3 separate regions of the Homo sapiens genome follow, and regions 2 and 3 are each linked to region 1. Evidence: promoter capture Hi-C in human tissues and cell types (Jung and others, 2019). All regions are on one chromosome and are shown on one strand. Each heading gives the region's core, a stretch centred on a gene start or on the middle of the fragment in contact. The rest is flanking DNA. Distances are from core to core; before and after follow the strand shown. Region 1 holds the start of TMEM150C (transmembrane protein 150C). Region 2 overlaps TMEM150C (transmembrane protein 150C). Region 3 has its middle 17 kb from the start of LINC00575.

The links. The method cuts DNA at HindIII sites, captures the fragments that hold promoters and counts their contacts. A contact is called where the count stands out against the background at its distance.
Region 2: a contact is called between a fragment that was not itself captured here and the fragment with the promoter of TMEM150C in region 1, in 1 of the 25 tissues and cell types used here (IMR-90 fibroblasts).
Region 3: a contact is called between a fragment that was not itself captured here and the fragment with the promoter of TMEM150C in region 1, in 1 of the 25 tissues and cell types used here (mesendoderm cells).

What each region holds. Positions count from the first base shown.
Region 1 is chr4:82,559,888-82,563,540 of GRCh38, forward strand. It overlaps TMEM150C (transmembrane protein 150C), which reads right to left and starts at 2,101. Exons shown (of 8, transcript NM_001080506.3): 1 at 2,019-2,101. RefSeq lists an enhancer at 1,827-2,326. The HindIII fragment of the contact is 10,143 bases long and covers 1-3,653 here.
Region 2 is chr4:82,501,358-82,505,010 of GRCh38, forward strand. TMEM150C (transmembrane protein 150C) reads right to left here. Exons shown (of 8, transcript NM_001080506.3): 2 at 3,221-3,310; 3 at 1,702-1,755; 4 at 1,538-1,570; 5 at 1,370-1,437. The coding sequence starts at 3,300. Among named protein-coding and RNA genes, the nearest start is that of TMEM150C, 59 kb to the right of the region's middle. The HindIII fragment of the contact is 8,691 bases long and covers 1-3,653 here.
Region 3 is chr4:82,602,308-82,605,960 of GRCh38, forward strand. No RefSeq gene overlaps it. Among named protein-coding and RNA genes, the nearest start is that of LINC00575, 17 kb to the right of the region's middle. The HindIII fragment of the contact is 4,070 bases long and covers 62-3,653 here.

The sequences.
Region 1 (3,653 bases), core at 851-3,350:
CCTCTCTCATGACTCCAGGCTGCCCTGCTAATCTGACCCACTGTACTAAAGAGGTGTGGGTCACAGGCGAGACAAAGCAGGAAGACAGACAAGAGTGTAAAGCAAAGGGCCTTCTCTCTTGACAATTGCAAAGCAGATAAAGTGAGCCCAAAAACCCCTGCAAGGTCATTGTGAACATGATTGTGGTAGTTCTACAACAAAGGCTAAATAGAACGCATTATTGTGTTCACGCAAAAAAAAAAATTACTCCATAGAGCAAATTATCCCCCCACAAAGCAACATGGAAAAGGTATTTGTAAGAAATGCATGAATTAAGCAATTGCTCTGAAGACTTAAATGCCAATTTAAATAATCCAAACAGATTGCATTCAGCTAATGGCAGATTATAATAAACATGCATTAAAGTGTTTTTCAAATACTTTAATATATTTGTGAATGTCATAACATCTATCAACTAGTCATTATTGTTAGCAAAACTTCTTTACCCTTTTATTTACCATGTCCAGTTTGTGAGCTTCCAACTTGGGGGACTTGCAAAACATTTATTAAATAATGTATAAAGGACACACCATTAAAATTCCTACGCTTATGCCTTGAAGATTAAACTCACATTTCTAGCTCATTAATAGATGACAGCTATAGTTAATCCTGGAAACATGGAGTCTCTAGAACACATACAAGAAAAAGTTTGGGATTTGATACATGAGAGCTGAGACTAAAATTCTTTGATCGGTCACATATATGGGCCTAACAATTTTTCCTTGAAATAGGAAACTTTAAGTAGGTCAGTTTAATGACTGCTACCATGGAGTTTATAAATCCACACTCAACTATCCTTTCGATGAACTGCTGCCCAGAATGGAGTTATAGCCCTGCACTATTAAAATGTCTTTGGTTCAAGCAGAGAAAGATGCAGAAACTGATCCTGCCATTTAGGCTTTGTTATTGTTTTAGATCCAATAACTGTTTGGTTTTGTTTTTCAACATGGCATTGGTATATCTGGTTCCCCAACAGGACCTCGCATGTAGGACATCGGAGTGGGTTCACTCGGGAAGATGGACTTCCATTCTACCTGAGCTATGTTCCCACATGCGGTCACAATCCTGGCCCAACCGTGAAAGGCGGTCTGGCCGGAATAAACCTGACCAAAAAGATCAGTGAAATGTGTGGGACATCATAAAGTGCTGTGGGGGTAGGGGTGGAGGAAAGGAATGAGTAGAGAAAAAAGGAGCATGAATTTAAAATGGGAAAACCCTCTCATACTCCATTTGATTCATTTAAGGAGGGGAAAACCACTCAAGGACTCTCTCCAGAACCCAAAGCTAATCACTTTTTTATTGCAGCAGATTACCAAAGAGCCTAGGTAACCCACCTACCACGGCCTCCCGCCGAAAAACCAAAAATCCCATTTCTTCCCAAGTGTGCGCCCAGGAAAGGAAGGAAGACTGTGCATTTAGAGTGGAGGGCGGTACACAGGGCAAAGCAAGTTAGTGCCTCCTTCCCAGATCCCCTGCTTCCCGAGCCAGCCTGACCTGGCTAACCGCAAAGTGCAGGGAGAATGGCACAGGGACCGGGAGGTCAAACTTGGGGTCGCTTCTCACCCGAGTCCACCCGATAACGAGATGATGGGGCGGCGGGTGGGGACACCTGTCAAAGGACGGGGCCGGGGCCGGGGCCGGGGCCGCAGCGGGCGGGCTGGCTGGCGGCACTGCGGCGGCGGGGACCGAGGCGCGCCGGCTCGGGCGTTCGCAGGTCGCGGGGCAGAGCCGGCACCGACTCCTGGACTTGCCGGGGAGCGTGCGCCCGCGGAGGGCTCGGGCGGGCGGCCCCGCGCCCGGGACGCTATGGGAGGGGGCCGCAGCCGAGCAGGGCCCCGCAGCCGGGCGGACCCAGCCGCCCCAGCCGCGCTGCAGCCCCCGCCGTCCCCGGTCTCCGCCTGCGGGCTGCGCACGGGGCCGGGCCGGACGCCCCCTGGCTGCGCGACGGGCCCAGGCAGGGGAGGGGGCGCCGCGCCTACCTGCTCTGGTGCGGCGGGGCCGCTGTCGCCTCGAGGGGCTGTGACCTGCTGCGGTGGCGGCGGCGGCAGCAGTAGCGGCGGGTAGGGCGCTTCCTTCAGGAAGGGGTGGGATCTGCTCACCCGCCCGCCCGGCCCCCTCCTGCCGCGCCGGGGCCCGCCCCCGACTTATTCTGGGGTCCCCGCTGCTAGGCCTTCGGGGAGAGTTGATCCCCTGGGTCTCGGGCTTCTGCCACCCCCCCGGGGCCCCTAATAGTCACCCGGGGCAGGAGCCGGGTGTGGGCGGGCGAGCCGCTTCCTTCCGAAGCCTTTGTGGACGCGTTTGCCTGGCGCTCCTCATCCAACAAAAGGAAGGACAGAATCTTGGATCCTCCGCCTGGTGGTTATTTATTCCTGACCTGTTGTAACCTTCTGCCTGGCTCTCTTTCGTCCGCACACCTAGGGTTTTTGCACAAAGCAGCTAAAATTCATTTTCATGCCCATTGACTGAATGTAGTTCTCCTCCACTCAGCGCTGTCCCGCGGTTTTTGGTTTTTTTTTTTCCATCCTATTGAACAAACACAGAGCCAACTTCGGACCCTGGCAATGAACAGCAGACACCAAGGCCGACCTCCCAGCGCCAGCTTGCAGCTTTCCTCCCTGGGTCTCGTCTGAGTCCGTCATAAACTGTGTTCATCAGCGTTTTGACAGCTTCCCCCATCCCGGACCCCCAACCTACCATGGGACCCCATGGCACCATGTCAGTGACCTCTAGCAGCAGCATGGATCAATGCCATTTTTATCTTAGGCTCATCATGAGCCTGGGTTCCAAACACAACCTCTCTGGCCTCCAACAGGTGGCTCTCTATCAACCGGCCTTTGTCAGTCTGCCCTCTATTCTTTTGGGGGCTTCCGTAGCACACCTGTCTCCTTTAAACTGCTGTCTCTACACAAGCAGGCATTCCCTTTTTTTCTTTTTCTTTTTCTTTTTCTTTTTCTTTTCTTTTCTTTTCTTTCTTTTTTTTTTTTTTTTTGAGACGGAGTCTTGCTCTGTCGCTCAGGCTGGAGTGCAGTGCCGCAATGTCGGCTCACTGTAACCTCTGCCTCTCGGGTTCAAGCGATTCTCTCGCCTCAGCCTCCTGAGTAGCTGGGATTACAGGCGCCCGCCACCATGCCCGATTAATTTTTGTATTTTCAGTAGAGGCGGGGTTTCACCACGTTGGCCAGGCTGGTCTCAAAACTCCTGGCCTCAAGTGATCCGCCTGCCTCAGCCTCCCAAACTGCTGGGATTACAGGCGTGAACCACCGCGCCCGGCCCAACCAGGTGTTTCTAAGAATCTTCTCCAATTCAGCATATTCAAATTCTGCAATTAACGTTCGGTTCCAGAACTCTCCCTTCCCCACAATTCTTGTGATTATTGTCTACTATGTGTATATTGATTCTTTTTTTTTTTCTGTATGTTGATTTCTTGTTACTGTTTTCTCCTGGCTACTAGACTGTAAGCTTCCTGAGACCAGGGATCTTGCCTTCTCTTGTTTTCCTTATTTTAATGAGTGGGACTGTTATCCATTCAATTAAAATAGCAAAAGCAAAAACTGAATCTTAGTCTAGACTCCCTTGAAAGTATATGCTCAATTTTGTGGGAATTAGCTTATGTG
Region 2 (3,653 bases), core at 772-3,271, 59 kb before region 1:
TGACTGCCAGGGGCATAAAGAGGAGAGCTTTTTTAAAGACTCGGCAACCCCAGCATCAGGGTATATTTAACTTTCTCCTTAGTGGTAGTGTAGCAGCCCAGGCTTTCCGGACACCTCCTGCTTTGGCAAATGGGATACGCTTTGGGGATGGCTGGGGAGAGCTTTGATGGAAAGGTGGTTAGCTCCAGGGAAGAATCTTGCTAACTGCACAGAAGCTCCCCAGCGTACTTCTTTTTGAAGCTTCAGGTTCAAGAGAGGCCTGATGAGCCTGACGGGAAACATTCTCCATGTTTCTCATGTTCTGGGCTTTCTGAACCAGCTAAGTTTCTGCCTGTGTTGCATGTTGGACCACCTGTCTCCCTTGATTTTCCACTGACTTCTAAAGGTCTTCCCATTCTTATAGCAAATATTAAAAAAGAATACATTAAGAGCGAGTAGGAATTTTGAGGGGTGGAGGTGAAATAACAGGTTACTTCTTTGGGAGACACGTCCCACAAAGGTTGAATATTCCCTCAGTAATAATACTACCTCTTACTTGGAGTGAAAGTCTCACCATCAAAAGAACCACTTCCAGAACACCATTGTGGGAAGGATGGGCTGTCTTTGGTCCATCCTAACATCATCCTGACAGTGATAGCCAGTTGACTCTTGGAGAGACACTGGGAAAGCCTGGCACTGAGGAGATGGTATACAAGGTAGATTAGAAAAAGGATAGAGTGCATGGCTGGTTCCCACCATCTCTGGAGGACTATGCAGGGTCATGGACGCACTCACAGAGGGACAGAATATTACAGGAGGGTCTTGGGCCCCAAAGAAAAAGGAACTGGGGCTAGATATGAGTACTAAAGGTTTCTTCTTTTTAAGCTTACTTCTCCATTTGCCAGCTTACTATGTCTATAGGCACAGGAGAGAGTGTAATCCTAATGCTGATGTTGACCTTTAGGTTTAAAGACAGTATCTACACACATCAACAAATATCACAAAGCCCATGCATTTTTTTCATCTTTGCTAGTGAAGGAATAAATAAAGCATTCTTTTCAAAGCAAATGTATTATACAATATTACATTCTCATACAGGATTTTATATCATGAAATATATTATTTTATGCAGCAAAATAGATCAAGTCAAGAGTATCTGAAATGATAAAGATGGTAAAGGGAAGAGAAAATGTAAGGACAGCAGGGTGAACGTAAATGGATGTACGAGAGAAAAAGACCTTTAAGACAAAGAGCTGGCTTCAGCATATTGACATCGTATGATACTAAATGATCAAATAAGCCCCCCATTGTTTTGACAAGGGTTTGGGAGAATTTAAAATACAAAAGAAATGTACCAAAGCACATAAAGCGTTCTTTACCCTCTTCTTACCTAGGAAGGCTGCCATGTTCATAACTTGACTAAACACACAGCTTGCAGGAGGATCATCACCTGCAATGCTTGAAAAAGATGAAATGTTTTATAGTTACTATATCAAAATCTATAATCCTCCTAACTTTTCCTACGGTCCCACAGGACAGAAGAGAATTGCTGGGTTACCTTATATATGGTGCATGCTTCACACCAGGTTTCCTGGATAATAAAAAAAAAAAACACAGAAGCTCAGGTTAAAGCACTGTCATTTGTGCAGTTTAACCTTCCCAGTGGGAAAGTTTTTGCTAAATCTCTTGATGAACAACGAATTACCCACAGATAAACTTTACCTTTCAGCTGAATTTAATGGTAAAATTTTGTCATCTTCCACAGCTATGAAGTATCTATCAAAAAAGAATAAGTTTATAGAACAAAGAAATTGGAAAAAAGAATCATTTGTTTCCCAGTTTTATTAAACTAACTGCACTAATTCATATTCATTTTTTCTAACTGAGAAATGCTCTTTTACAATTCTTTACCCATAGATCATCTAGTTCTTTGAAGCTCAAATGTCATTATTAGTAATATTTCCTTAATTTTCAAAACATCCCCAAAGTAATGGCCATGCTTATAAACTGGAAACTAGAAAACAAGGAAATAGAACTTACAACTTTGAGCAAACTAAAATTAGGGTTCAGTTTCTAACTTCTCGGGAATATGTGTCCTACCTTTCCTAACAAACTTTGAGAAACTAAAATAATTTTCTTAAAGTGAATATTACCTAAAATAAGCAAGTGTGGGAACGTTCTGTGGTAAGCCAGGACTTCCAATGTAATGATATTCATTTTATAAACATATCAGGCCGGGCGCAGTGGCTCACGCCTGTAATCCCAGCACTTTGGGAGGCCGAGGCGGGCAGATCACGAGGTCAGGAGATCGAGACCATCCTGGCTAACATGGTGAAACCCCGACTCTACTAAAAATACAAAAAATTAACTGGGTGTGGTGGTGGGCGCCTGTAGTCCCATCTACTTGGGAGGCTGAGGCGGGAGAATGGCGTGAACCCAGGAGGCAGAGCTTGCAGTGAGCCAAGATCATGCCACTGCACTTCAGCCTGGCAACAGAGCAAGACTCCGTCTCAAAAAAAAAACAAAAACAAAAAACAAAAAACAAAAACATATCAGACCCAATCATGAATAACTGGACTATGAACTGGACTGCAGACGGAACCCATGGCATGTTAGTGTCAAATTCGAAAATCTTGCAAATAATTAATTCATATAACCTGTTTACAAAATGTTCATTACAACAAGAACACATGAACACAAAATAAACTAGTATTCTTCACCACCGGCTTTGCATAATTATTACTCACTCTTGTTACTTACTTTGGTTAATAGAAAATGGGAAAAGAAATGAGGACTTTAGCAAGGTTGAATTAGTAAAATATATTATTTTCAAGTATTTATAAATACAGTCATAAAGATATGCCATCTACTATTTTTTGGGGGGGTGGGGACAGTCTTGCTCTCTTGCCCAGTCTGGAGTGCAGTGGCGCAATCTCAGCTCAATGCAACCTCTGCCTCCAGGGTTCAAGCGATTCTTGTGCCTCAGCCCCCCGAGTAGCTGGGATTACAGGCGTGTGCCATCACACCCGGCTAACTTCTGTATTTTTAGTAGAGACAGGGTTTCCCCATGTTGGCAAGGGTCTCAAACTCCTGACCTCAAGTGATCTGCCTGACTCGGCCTCCCAAAGTGCTGAGATTACAGGCATGAGCCACCGTGCCCGGCTGCCATATACTATTAAGGTTTACATTTGTATCTACATTGCACCTGAATCCTTAAATAATTAAATGAGCAAATACTCACACTATCCACAATCCAGCTGAAGTAAACAAAGTAAATACAAGAGGTAGGAACATCCATACGCTGCATTTCTTCCCATCCATGCCTGTACCACTGAAATAAAATAAACACGTATTAATAATTAAGGCAAAACATTTACTTCACTCTTTCAAGATAGAAAGTTTAGTCTAACTGGGCCAAGCACGGTGGCTTACACCTGTAATCCCAGCACTTTGGGAGGCCGAGGTGGGCGGATCACGAGGTCAGGAGATCGAGACCATCCTGGCTAACACAGTGAAACCCCGTCTCTACTGAAAGTACAAAACAATAGCCGGGCGTGGTGGCGGGCGCCTGTAGTCCCAGCTACTTGGGAGGCTGAGGCAGGAGAATGGCGTGAACCTAGGAGGCGGAGCTTGCAGTGAGCCGAGATCGCGCCACTGTACTCCAGCCTGGGCGT
Region 3 (3,653 bases), core at 847-3,346, 42 kb after region 1:
TTACCTTTCAAATGAGATACTTTAAACCCAAATAAATCTGTAATTGGTGGAATTTCAGGCAATGACAAAAGGAAGAGAAATGAGGAAAATCCAGGGCCATCTTTGACATCACCACACATAGGCCACAACAAACTCGGTCTTCTTAAAGTCAGTTGTAGAATTACTCCTTGTCTTCAAGAGTAGAGAGGAAAGCAAGGGGAAACTCGTAAAGTCATGAGATACATCCCTTGGGATTGTGCCTCCTATCTCTCTTTAAGTCAACAATCATATATCTCTCTGGGCTATGTCCTTAGTGCATCTAGCATGGGTTTTCAATTGCACAAATTTGTGATAAAGGAAACACACACTTCAAGATACCTTTTCCCAGAAGTACTTCTTCTAAGATATCAGACCTTAGACCAGCAAGCTCACACCGACCTAGGAGTATAGGGCAGAGTTTTAAAATAAGCAAACCTAGACAAGATTGGTAACAAGGGATGATGATAATGATACATTTGTGGGTTCGGATTCTTAGGTGCCTGGGGGTGCCCTGATCAGAAGACTCTGAAAGAAGGAATAGTTCTTTAAGTCAAACCTGATGAATTTCTTGTATTAAACATCAGAAGTGGGTGAGAAATGGCAGCACTGAACAAACCAGGGAACTAAGAGGTTCTGCCACTGACTGTCTGTAATAGCAAAAGGTTGGGGAAAATTGAATGTCCATCCATGGGGAACTTGTTAAATGAATGATGATGTGTCCACATAATGAGATTCTAGGCAGCTATCAAACAAGATGAGAAAGCTATTTGCTGGTACAGGAATATACAGATTAAACACATAAAGGCGCTACTTTTGTGTAAGAAAAAGGAGAAACAATAATACACACATTCACATTTGCTGTATTTGCATAAATAAATAATAAAAATGCTTACTTGTACAGAGAAAATAGGAAGTGGAATGAGATAAATGGAAGAGGAGGGGAGCCAGACCCGTCACGGTTTGATATTGTTTCGACTTTTGAGCCATGAAAATATATTACCTATTTCAAAAGGTTTTGCGATTTGATATTGAAGTATTGTCAAAGTGGTTTATTGAGCATTTAATATATAATTTTCCAGTGAAGTAGGCTGAGTTTGTATGATTGACCACATTGGATCCAGGAGGAAATAGGGCCTAGTGTGATTTAGATACAATCCCACCTCTGCTATTCTTTGATCCTGGGCAAGTTGCTTAACTTTTCTAACCCTATCTGTAAAATGGGAATAATCGTAGAAGTGAAACAATGAATGTGGAGTCAAGTGAGGACTCAGTAAGAGTTAACTATTATCATTATGATTATCATCTACCATAGCTGGTCAGTGGCTGGGATGCTAGACCCCAGGTCTCCTGACTCCTAGTCCAGTTTGTGTTTCACCAGAACATAGGCAGGAAAGCGCTTGTTGTGTCTGTTCAAATAGAGATTTCTTGGAAGAAACACACCTTCTAAGAGGTATGAGCAGGTTGGTATTAACAAAGAAAAGTCTGTGAAATGAAATGAATAGATAATTCCTTTAAAAGAAGTTCTCTCCTCTATTCAGCATAGCACTATAAAACTTAACTGCAGTGGATGAATTAGTATTAGGGATTGATTTAAAATAATATAGGGGTAGAGAAAGTGGGTGGGGTATACATGAAACAAATTAGCCATGAGTTGACAACTGTTGAAGCTGAATGATGGGTACATAGAGGTTTGCATACTGATTGTCAACTTTTATATATATTTAACATTTCCATAATAAAAAGTTAAATATATATTGTAGCAGCTTAAACATGGCTACAAAATTCTCTGATACTCTTCCTGTTTGAGGGGTGAAGTCTATGTCACTTCCTCTTAATCCAGCAGGTTTTGGGACTGTTCTGACCAATAGAATGCAATGCAAGTGGCCCTGTGCCAGGCTCCCTTTAGGCCTTAAAGACTGGCAGCTTCTACCCTCATCTCTTGGAACACGGTCTGGAGTCCTGAGCCACCATGTAAGAAGTTTGACAACCCTGCTAGAGAGACCACAGAAAGGGGCTCTTGAGACTACACGGAGAGAAAAAGGGGCCTGGCTTCCCTGTTGTTCCTGCCAAGGAGGCACACATGTGAATAAAGCTTTCTTGGACCCTCCAACCTAGCCCCACCACCAGCTGAATTCCACAGAGTGACCTCATTGCTGTGATACAGAGCATAACAATTGTCCAGGAAAGCCCTGCCCAAGTTCTCAACCCACAGACAATAAATATGGGAAAATGATTGATGTTTAAGCCATCAAGTTTTGGGATAGTTTGTTACACAGCATTAGATAGATAACCAGAATACACATGCCACACACACACATGCACACACATATGTGCACACATACACACACCCACATACACACAAACACATGTGCACACACATATGCATGTACACACACCAGACACACATGCATACACATACACACACATACACGTGTACACACACATACACATGTGCACAAACATACATCTACACACATATACATTTTAAACAGCAACAGCAGGAATTTAGTTTGAAAACATTTGGATATCTGGCTACCTAAAATTTTGCAATGTGATAAAACTAAAGTACCAAATTATGAAGAAGTTGGTTATCAGTGGGACAAAGATATTCAAGTATTTGAAATTTAGGGCAGTATTTTAAAGGCAGAGAGGGTCTTTTTAATAAAGTAAATTGCAATAGTAGGTTGTGAAAGATTTACTTTCAGAGTCTGAGTAGGTCTTCTAGTTTTCATTTGCTGCCAGTTTAGTTGTTGACAAAACTATTGAGGGGCAAAAAACGCTCAAATCTCTTAAGAAGAAAGAAACCATTACAAACAGATCCAGCCACATTTCAAGGGAGCATGTTTTGATGGCTGCTTTTCCAAGTTTTCAATGTTGTCCTTTCATTTAAAAGCACACATATTTCACAGAGTAGATGATATTAATTGTGTTTTTTTTGAACAGCCACTGATTTTTTAAAATCCAGTAGACTCATCATTTACTTGTACAAACTGCACTTGTCTTGATTTCAGTGGTAATTTCACTTAATCAAGTGATCTCTGTTTTATTTATTTTCATATGTGATACAATTAGCAAAACAACAATGAAAGAAAACAAAAGAGACAAAACTTCAAGTGGATGTTGTTGTGCTTTATAGAACACCTTCCCCAATTTGCCAGATTGGATAGGTTGTATCAAACATCAGCTTTTCCACAAGCCCTCCCTCTCACCCTACCTGGAATAGCAACTCCTGTAGCACTACAGTCTGGCACCATTTTATTTTTCTTCCTTGTAAGTATGAAGGCATTCCATTTTACAGTCACTTGTTTGCAATCCTCTTTTCCTGTCATTACAACATAAGCTCTTTGAGAATAAGACCTTTAGATCCTGCTGGACCTAACACAATGACTAGCATAATGCTTAATAAATATTTGTAGAATGAATGAATGAACGAATGAGGATTTTTTTTTCCCCTTTTTTGAGACAGGGTTTTGCTCTGTCACCCAGGCTGGAGTGCAGTGGCATGATCATGACTCACTGCAGCCTCAACCTCCTGGGCCCAAGTGATCCTCCCACTTCAACCTCCCCAGCAGCTAGGACCACAGGTGCACATCACCACACCTGGCTAATTTTTAAATTTTTTGTAGTTGAGATCT